Regions from separate parts of the Homo sapiens genome. Here regions 1 and 3 are each linked to region 2. The links are contacts of gene promoters, found by promoter capture Hi-C in blood cells and fetal thymus (Javierre and others, 2016). All regions are on one chromosome and are shown on one strand. Each heading gives the region's core, a stretch centred on a gene start or on the middle of the fragment in contact. The rest is flanking DNA. Distances are from core to core; before and after follow the strand shown. Region 1 overlaps LOC105379231 (a long non-coding RNA gene). Region 2 holds the start of TNKS (tankyrase). Region 3 overlaps TNKS (tankyrase).

Region 1 (3,161 bases), core at 24-2,523, 190 kb after region 2:
TTTCCATTAGAATGCATGTCTTATATCAACTGGGAAGCCAAGAAGGCAGTTCAGAACTGAACTGAAATCTATCCTGTGTTGGAATTTTATAGCCAGATATCAGTTAACCAGGCCCCAGTGAGTGGAGAAATCTTGGATTTAGATTCTCATGAAATTCTTTATCAAATCCTGGGATCTTCCAAAAGACTGTGTAAAATTATAATTTAATTCTGCAGAAGTAGAACCTCAATTGGATATCATCCACAAAAGCACTGCAATGTCTATCTTTTTGGGATCATGTCAAAGATCCTAAATCCATGCTTACTTTGGCAGAAAGTATTAGTGTTTAGTTCATTAGTAATTGGCACATTGGAATGATATAGAGAAGATTAGCACGGCCCTGCACAAAGATGCCGTGCAAATTTGTGAAGCTTTCCATATTTTTATTGCATTTACTCCATCATATGTGGGAGCTAAAAGAAGGTGATCTTACAGAGGTAGAGAGTAGAACGTTTACTAGCAGTTAAGAAGGACATGAAGGTGGGGGAATGAAGAAAGGTTGGTTAGGGGTACAAACATATAGTTAGAAAGAATAAGTTCTAACGTTAGATGGTAGAATAGGGCGACTGCATTACATATTTTGAAAATAGCTAGAAGATAGGACTTGAAATGTTCCCAGCACCTGGAAATAAATACTCCAGCTGGATACCCTGATACCCTGTCTTGATCATAACACATTCCATGCATGTAACAAAACATCACATATACACCATGAATATGTGAAAATATTATGTATCAATTACAAAAAGATACTAAATCAAGAAGGAATGCAGGCACCGCTGTTGGAGGTGGCCCTGGCATCTGGTGATGAGTAGTAGACAGAGAGACGCAGGCGGGACATAAGAGAGGCCGCAAACTGTAGGTACCTGATTCAGGAAGCCGTTTTGATCCATTGTGAATGTAATTAAGTTGTGTTTTCTGTTCCGAAAGGATAGCCGTCCCTTCGCCATTTGTCTATTCCCCATTTTTCTGTACTAATGTTTCCTTATCTTACACTGAACAGGCGAACAGGCTATTAAATAATACAAGGAAGAAAACATGAGGGATTGTCTTTAAAAGTGATCAAACGGCAAAGGGGATTCCTGACCAAAGCGAAAGAGGAATGGAGTGACACCTGCTATGTGCCAGTCACTGTGCTGTGTCTTTTTTTCTTTTCTTTTTTTCTTGTTTTTTTTTTTTTTTTTTTTTTTGAGACGGAGTCTCGCTCTGTCGCCCAGGCTGGAGTGCGGTGGCGCGATCTCAAGCTCCGCCTCCCGGGTTCACGCCATTCTCCTGCCTCAGCCTCCTGAGTAGCTGGGACTACAGGCGCCCGCCACCACACACGGCTAATTTTATGTATTTTTAGTAGAGATGGGTTTCACCCTGTTAGCCAGGATGATCTCGATCTCCTGACCTCGTGATCCACCCGCCTCGGCCTCCCAAAGTGCTGGGATTACAGGCGTGAGCCACCGCACCCGGACTGTGCTGTGTCTTTTCAACTGCCTTTCTTTATCCATTCTCATTAAAAACACACACACACACACACGAAATGCATATTGTTATCCCTACTTAATTGACAGAAATGGAAGCCCGGTGGGTTACAGTAGACTGAGAGCCTTTAGTCAGCAAGTAAGGGCCATTGCAGGGATTGAAACCCAACTTCTGACTTCAGAGCGACAGTTTTCCCGCTGCTCCGCAGCACCTTCTACCACTGAAATAGAGCATTTCCATGTCACCCCCTCTAGAAACAAAAACATTTTACTCAATTGTTTTTCAACCAGGAAATAAAAATATTCAAAAAGCAAAGATGACCCCATTTCCTCTTAACTATATTTAATACAGGGACAGTGATAAGAGAACACAGTAGATTTGGCATTAGCTAGACGAGGCTGGTCAAACTGAATTAGAAGGGCACAGTTTGTTGACAGCCGCGATAGACAGTGGGTTCTGTGAAATGGACCCCAAGCCAGTTAACACTGATGGGGAAGAAGCCCACCTGCTCGTGAGACTTTGCGTGGGGCCCGGCTCAGTGCCTTAAATAAGGGATCATTATGTATACAATCTGATAGTAGAAAGAAGGAAAAAAGCCCTGTGCTGTAGAAAAAGTGTTTAAGCTTTTTAGATTACATAACGGGAGCTATAACATCCACTCTGGTGGCACAAAAATTAAATCTAGCCACCAAATCATATCAAAGCCAAAATACAGAATACAGGTGTGCTTCTCGTGAGAAGATCCATACGCACAAAATCTAATCGCGTTCCAGCTCAGCCTCACCGATACCCGCTCCCGCGATCCTGTTTCTGGTGCTGCATGACAAGCTCCCCCTAGTGGGAAGCAGGGACATTTCAGCATCCATGCTCAGCTGATTCAGAACAATAGAAATGTCTCAAGGTTTCCATTTTTTTTAAATGCTGCTTTAGTTGGACAGTGAGCAAAAACTGGAGCCAAAACCAGTGGATTTTCATGGCATGCAGGTAACAGTGGGACTTTTCACCCTCCCCTCGTGTTTATGCTCAGGAAATCCTAAAAGGACACACCCTGTAAGTGCAGGGATGTCTGAACAATCCCGTTCATGCCTATGCACACATCAGTCTCTCTCAATCCCTTATCTCCAATAGGAACCAACAATAAAATGTATCCTAGGTTGTCGCAAACACCGTATGTGGTGCGCATAATCGGAAGGTCCCTTCCTTTTTTTTTTTTTTTTTTTGAGACGGAGTCTTGCTCTCTGTTTCCCAAGCTGGAGTGCAGTGGCGCAATCTCGGCTCACTGCAAGCTCTGCCTCCCGGGTTCACTCCATCCTCCTGCCTCAGCCTCCCGAGTAGCTGGGACTACAGGCGCCCGCCACCACGCCCGGCTAATTTTTGTATTTTTAGTAGAGACGGTGTTTCACCGTGTTAGCCAGGATGATCTCGATCTCCTGACCTCGTGATCCGCCCGCCTCGGCCTCCCAAAGTGCTGGGATTACAGGCGTGAGCCACCACGCCCGGCCTTGGAAGGGCCCTTCTAATGCTGCTGACACCTGACTTAGTTGGGTAGAACCCCAGCTTCACATCTGCTTTGCTTTCTGCTTTACTGATAGCCTTTGTGTGCACTCAAAGGGCTGCTGACAAGATCTGTCCAGTGACATTTTTATGTGCCC
Region 2 (3,001 bases), core at 433-2,932:
AATATATGTATTTCCAATATAATGTTTCTAATGTATAAAACATTATTACCTACATTTTTAAAATATCAACAATAGGTATCCAGGCAGTGAGATTATGGTCCTTTGTTTTTATTTTACAGTTCTCTTTATTTTATAAACATATTATTAGGTGTCTTTGAGAGAAAATCATCAACTACTTGCAAAAAAAAAAAAAAAGACAAGTGTGGGGTCCAGAGCTTAAGAAATTCACACTTTTTGAGGGAGAACTTTGTGCCAGATACTTCTCACCAAATGCTCGCACAACATCATTTTATGATTTTTGCCCATGAGAAAACTGAGGCAACTGACACGAGGTAAATGGTCTGCTAGACAACAAATAATAGTGGCCACAACATCAAAGCCTATATTTCTTCCATCATCATATAATGCATCCAAATATTCTTCTCCAGTTGTTTCACATTGGCATATTTTGGTCTCCCCGTCTAGACTGCAAACTTCTTTAGAAGAAGGGAAACTTTCAAACACTTCATTTATGTCTTTCATTGGGTTATTAAGGCTACAATAGATCCTCAAACATGTGTTGGGTTGTATTAAACCTCTTTTGGTCTGGACTGTCCTCAAAGGACATACCCTTGTAAAAACAAAATAAACTAGCACACAAACGACAAAACTACTCTAAAGCTGTCCAAATCTAACTGTATTCCTGCACACCAAAAACTAAAGTGTAAATATATCCATATGCAGAGACTACCAACTACAGTGAGTTTTGTAATGAGTACTGTGCAACCACTGAAGAATTCCTTGGATTCACTTATCCCCCCCAACCACGCCCCCATCACCCAGGCACCACCAAAAGAAAGGAACCTCCAGTCTTCTGGTGAGGTGATGAAGAACCATAACCACGCCCCCACTTTGTCCCATCACAATAACCTGTTTTCTTGTCCTAACCGGACCCTGCACCCAAACCCATAACCCTTAATAAACAATTCAAAAGTCTCTGACCTGCAGCGAAGTGCAGGGGAGAAGACTTCCGGCCGGCCATGTCCTTTGCATTTACGTTTGCCGCGTCCACCAGCCTCTTTACCCGGGACACGTCCCCATTGCGACAGGCCTCCAGCAGTTCCCGTAGGGCCCCGCTCACTGCTGGGACCCCTGTCCCAGGTCCTGCTGCCCCAGGCCCCAGTGGTGCTGTGCTGCTAACTCCGGCCGCCTCGGGGCTCTCCGCCAAGCTCGATCCAGGGGAGGATGGAGAGGAAGATGAGGAAGAAGTCGGGGAAGAAGAGGACGACGGTGAATTGTTACTGCCACTGCCGGCTGGGTTGGGAGCGACCCCAGCGGCAGATGAAGTAGAAACCGCTGGGACCACGGGAGCGGCGGCGACGGTACAGATTGTGCTGGTGGTACTGCAACAGCTGGTACCGTCAACCGGGTCCGGGGATCGGGGCCTGTCGGGCGGATCCCGACTGCCATCCCCCTCCGGCAGCGCTAGGCCGTGCCGCGGGGAGGCGAAGGGGGCCAGGCCGCTGGCCGTGGGAGAGGCTGGGGTGGTCCCCGGGGCCAGGCCAGGGCTGAGTGGGGGAGGAGGTGGCGGCGGCGGCGCTGAAGCCCCTGGGGCGGGCTGGAGCTGTTGTTGATGATGGTGGTGATGATGCTGAGAGCGACGCGACGCCGCCATCTTCGGACTCCCCTAGCACTGTCACTGCGGCAACGGCCCCCACCGCCCGCCCTCACTTCCGACTGTCGGACCAATCAGCATCCAGCGCACAGGAAATGATGCTAGGCGGGGTAGCAGGGGCCAAAGAGAAGGAGGGAAGTATTGGGAGCTCAGAGAACAGCCAAGGGAACGGGGCGGGGCTTTGTCACTGAGAGGCGGGCTTTGTGACGTGGTGGCGGGCCGGCTGGAGAGATTTGAATGCTGGAACCAGCTTCTGCCTAGATGGGAAACATTTCCTGCATTTCTCACTTTCAGTCGGCTTTCTTTGCCCTGCTCCGCTCTGTTTCCCTTAGTCTCCCTTTGCTTGCTCCAGAGCCAGCTGTTGAGATGCAGATCAGAGCAAGCAGGGAATGTGTCCGTTATCATCTATTAAGCGTCCTTGTCTGAAAAATGGAACTTATAGTACCAACCTCACAGAATTATTAGCGGGATTAAAAGAGCTAACAGACAAAGCGCTCTGCCAGTAAAACACAAGTATAATTAGCCCGTTGGTAATTTTTTAAATTATAGTATTTCTTTTCCAGGTGTCCCCTTGAGCTCTTGTCCCTTCCCTATAATTTTTCTCACCCTATGTGCTTTAATTCCTCGTTTTTAAATGCTGGTTCAGATTGCTAGGATTGGCGTTCCAGCTCTGCCATTTGTTGTTTATATATGTACTTGCTATTTCATCACTCTATGCCTGTTTTTCTCTGTAAAATTGAAATAACAATAGTGCAATAAGTGTGAATTATTAAAATTATGATTTTTTTTTCCTATTCTGCTCTCTCTGAAATTTTATTTTTCACCCTAAGTGTAACTAATTATGAATATATTCCTTTCTTTTGAATTCTGGCTTAGCTTAGCCTCTCCCACACCCGAAACAGATAAAAACCTGATTGCTAGGCTGGTCACGGTGGCTCATGCCTGTAATCCTAGCACTTTGGGAGGCCGAGGCCGGCGGGCCACTTGAGCCCGGGAGTTCAAGATCAGCCTGGCCATCACGGCGAAGCTCCATCTCTACAAAAAATACACAGATTAGCTGGGCAAAGTGGCACATGCGTGTAGTCCCAGCTACTCAGGAGTCTGTTGGGAGGATCACTTGAGCCCGGGAGGCAGAGGTTGCTGTGAGCCGAGGTCACACCACTGCACTCCAGCCTGGGTGACAGAGGGCGGAGACCCTGTCACAAAAACAACAAGAAAACATAACAAAAACCTGATTGCTGTCCATTACTCACCATCAGGTGCTATTTTTCAGCAACTGCTTTTTCTGTCTTTCCCCCAACCTATGTATACTTTTGTTTTTCTACTATCAAAAGATGTATCCATGAA
Region 3 (3,356 bases), core at 101-2,600, 220 kb before region 2:
TTTATTTATCTCATTTGCTTTATCATTTGCCCCTTCCCTATCCCTGTATACTAGATACACCCACACCCACACATACGCACTACACACACACACACACACACACACACACAGACACACACACACACACACACAAACACACACACACACATTCTCCCCAAAACGTTTACAAGTTATATACATCATCATGGTCCTTTATCCCTAAATATGCCAGTATATATTTTCTAAGCATAGACATATTGCCTTACGTAAGTACAGAATCAACCTTATAATTTTACATTGATACAATCCTTTTATTTAATGTCCATATTCCAATTCTGTCAGTTGATCTAATAATGTACTTTCTCTTCCAATACTGGATGCAGTTGGGGGCAGAAGGTTAACTTCGTTTTCATGTCTCTTGGGCCTCATGTAATCTGGAAAGTTAGCACAGCCTTTCTTTTATAATATTAACATTTTTGAAGAATACAATCTTTCAACATTAAAAAAAGTAAAACATTCCTCATTTTGATTAGACTTACATCATGTATTTTTGGCTGGAATGCTGCAGAGATGTCGTGCCTTTAGAGTATCCACCTAGAGAGATAATATAAGCCTATCTGTCCCTCATTGGTGATGTTGATTTTGATTATCTGGTCAAGGCATTGTCCCCTTTCTCCAATATATAATTACTCCTCCCCCCAGCCCCCTTTGAAAGTAAGTCTGTAATAAGAAAACCACGCAAATATTCTTCTCCTTAGTGAAACAATCCCCATATTTAGCATCCATTAATAATTCTTGCCTGGTCTAATAATGGGTACATGATGAGTCCCATGTCATCCCTCCCTCCACCCGTCCTTCCCTGTTTCTCCCTCCCTCCTTCTCTCTCCCTCTCTCCCCCTCCATCCCTCCCTACCTCTGTCTCCTCTCACTCCCTCCCTTTCTCCCTCCCCCATCCCTCTGCCTATCCCTTCTTCCCTCCCACCTCTTTCTCCCTCTCACTCCCTCCCACTCCCTCCCTCTCCCCCTCCCTCCCTCTTCCTCCCTCTCTCCCCATCCCTTCCTTCTGCTCTCCCTCACTTTCTCCCTCCGTTCCGCTCTCTAGCTCTCTCTCCCTCCCTCCCCTCTCTCCCCGCTTCATTCCCCCTTCTCCCTTCCTCCCCCACTTCCCTTCTCCTCTCTCTCCTGCCTTCCTTTTTTTCTCTCTCCTTCCTCCAATCCTTCCTTTCTCACTCCCTGTTCCTTCCTCTCTCGCTTTCTCCCTTCCTCTCTCTCTCTCTCTCTCTCCCTCCCTTCCTGCCTCTCCCCTCCATTCATCCCTCTCTCTCTTTCCCTCCCTCTTTCCTTCCTCTCTTCCTCCCTTCTTTCTTTCCTCTCCCTTTCTCTCTTCCTTCCTCTCTCGCTTTCTCCCTTGCTTCCTCTCTCAGTCTTTCTCCCTCCCTTCCTCTCTCTCCCGTTCTTTCCTTCCCTTTATCTCTTTCCCCCTTCCTTCTTCTCTCCCTCCCTTCTTCTCTCTCTTTTCCTTTCCTCTGTCCCTCCCTTCCTTAGTATCTGTCTCCCTTTCTTTCCCTCCCTTTCTCTCTTTCCCTCCCTCCCTTCCTCTCTCTCTCCCTCCCTGCTTCCCTTCCTCTCTCTCCCTCCTTTCTTCTCTCTTCCTTCCTTCCTCTCTCCTCCCTCCCTTCCTCGCTCTCTCTTCCTCCCTCACTTCCTTCCTCCCTCCCTCCTTTCCTCGCTCTCTCCCTCCCTTCCTCTCTCTCTTCCTCCCTCACTTCCTTCCTTCCTCTCTTCTCTCCCTCCTTTCCTTCCTGTCTGTCTCTCTCTCTCTCCTTCCCTCCCTTCCTTGGTTTCTCTTTCTCTCATATACACACACATGCTTATATTACTACTTACCCATAAATTTACATGGGTGTACACACACGTTAGAAACCATGAGATCATAGTAATACTTCCAATTTCAGTCCACCCTTAGAGTCTTTCTTACCTTCTCCATTCCATATTTGTATGTCCCTTCTTCTACCATGAGAATTTTGGCTCCTCAAATCAATACATCAACACATCCGCTCATGTGCTCAATCCTATAATATGCTTAAGAGTTTCACTGTTTTGCCCACGGTATCTCCATCAACACATTTACTAAAAGGAGTTCAGGATTCCTTTGTCAGTCTTCCCCCAACAGCATTCCCTACCCTGCCCATGACTGAAGGCACAGTATAAAATACTGTTTTCATAGGTTATATATATTTAGTTATTTCCTTCTTTATTTTTCTCTTTTATTGTAGTTATGGTATTCATTTGAAGTTCACTTACATTCAGACAAATTGTTTTTGTTTTTGGACAAATCCTGTGGCATGTACATCCATGAAGACCCACTAACAGCAGCTGCCCTGGCATGCTGCCCACGAAGTGGCACAAGGCATTAGTTCAGAGCTGCAGGCCTCAAAACGGCATGAGGGCCCAAGCCTTTGTTTCTCAGCTGCCCTCTTGTTCACACTGTGTTATGTGGCTGACAGCTACTAATGGGTTTTAGGTAAAAAGTTGATGTCAAAGAATTATTTTGATACCTTTATTTTGTATCTGAAGTAATTAATACTAGCACACTGTGTGGTGGATATTTCACTGAAAAGTGTCTCAAGTCTTACACGGTCTCTGTGCTCTATTGACATGTTTGTGAACTTGGTTATGCTTGTTTGATGAGTAACATACCTGTTCTCCTCTGTAGATGACATATTCAGCATATGCCAGCCCATTGACGCTCGGTCTACCAATGACTGAGTGGTGCCCTGGAGGCGCGTGGGCCATTTTCATGGTGCTAAACTGCAGAAAGGATTTCCCAAGGGTCACTCTACAGAAGAGCATTTGTCTAAGGAAAAAGAAAAAAACAATGCTTTGAAGGAAGCTTTAAATCTTACAATAATATAACTGCTAGATCTATTAATTTTTTAAAAATTTAACATAAGGCAAGCTAATTTAAATGTCATTTTCAGATTTATGAGTAGGAATGGGATGGAATTTGATATAATGATTTGCTATAAACAGTTACCAGACTCAATAGTTACACTTAAAGTTTAAAGTAGTTTTGGTATGGCTTAGGAATCGGCCATAGAAAATGCCTGCTAGGGAGATCAAGACCATCCTGGCTAACACGGTAAAAACCTCGTCTCTACTAAAAATACAAAAAGTTAGCCGGGTGTGGTGGCGGGCGCCTGTAGTCTCAGCTACTTGGGAGGCTGAGGCAGGAGAATGGCACGAACACGGGAGGTGGAGCTTGCAGTGAGCCGAGATCGCGCCACTGCACTCCAGGCTGGGCGACAGAGCGAGACTCCGTCTCAAAAAAAAAAAAAAAAAAAAAAAAAGAAAATGCCTGCCAGTAAGTTTTGCCT

The links. Contacts are between HindIII fragments. The CHiCAGO score rates a contact against its expected background, and 5 or more counts as called.
Region 1: a contact is called between a fragment that was not itself captured here and the fragment with the promoter of TNKS in region 2, in 1 of 17 cell types (endothelial precursors). The highest score is 6.7, in endothelial precursors.
Region 3: a fragment that was not itself captured here is called in contact with the fragment with the promoter of TNKS in region 2 in 1 of 17 cell types (naive CD4 T cells); the score reaches 5.6 in naive CD4 T cells.

The regions. Positions count from the first base shown.
Region 1 is chr8:9,368,353-9,371,513 of GRCh38, reverse strand. All of the region lies in intron 1 of LOC105379231 (a long non-coding RNA gene), which reads right to left. It also overlaps the pseudogene RNU6-526P. Among named protein-coding and RNA genes, the nearest start is that of TNKS, 190 kb to the left of the region's middle. RefSeq lists an enhancer at 2,224-2,273. The HindIII fragment of the contact is 1,722 bases long and covers 413-2,134 here.
Region 2 is chr8:9,554,593-9,557,593 of GRCh38, reverse strand. TNKS (tankyrase) reads right to left here and starts at 1,682. Exons shown (of 27, transcript NM_003747.3): 1 at 982-1,682. The coding sequence starts at 1,654. RefSeq lists enhancers at 678-1,337, 1,338-1,999 and a silencer at 1,420-1,579. The HindIII fragment of the contact is 11,121 bases long and covers 1-3,001 here.
Region 3 is chr8:9,769,586-9,772,941 of GRCh38, reverse strand. TNKS (tankyrase) reads right to left here. Exons shown (of 27, transcript NM_003747.3): 26 at 2,680-2,836. Among named protein-coding and RNA genes, the nearest start is that of MIR597, 30 kb to the right of the region's middle. The HindIII fragment of the contact is 3,049 bases long and covers 1-2,874 here.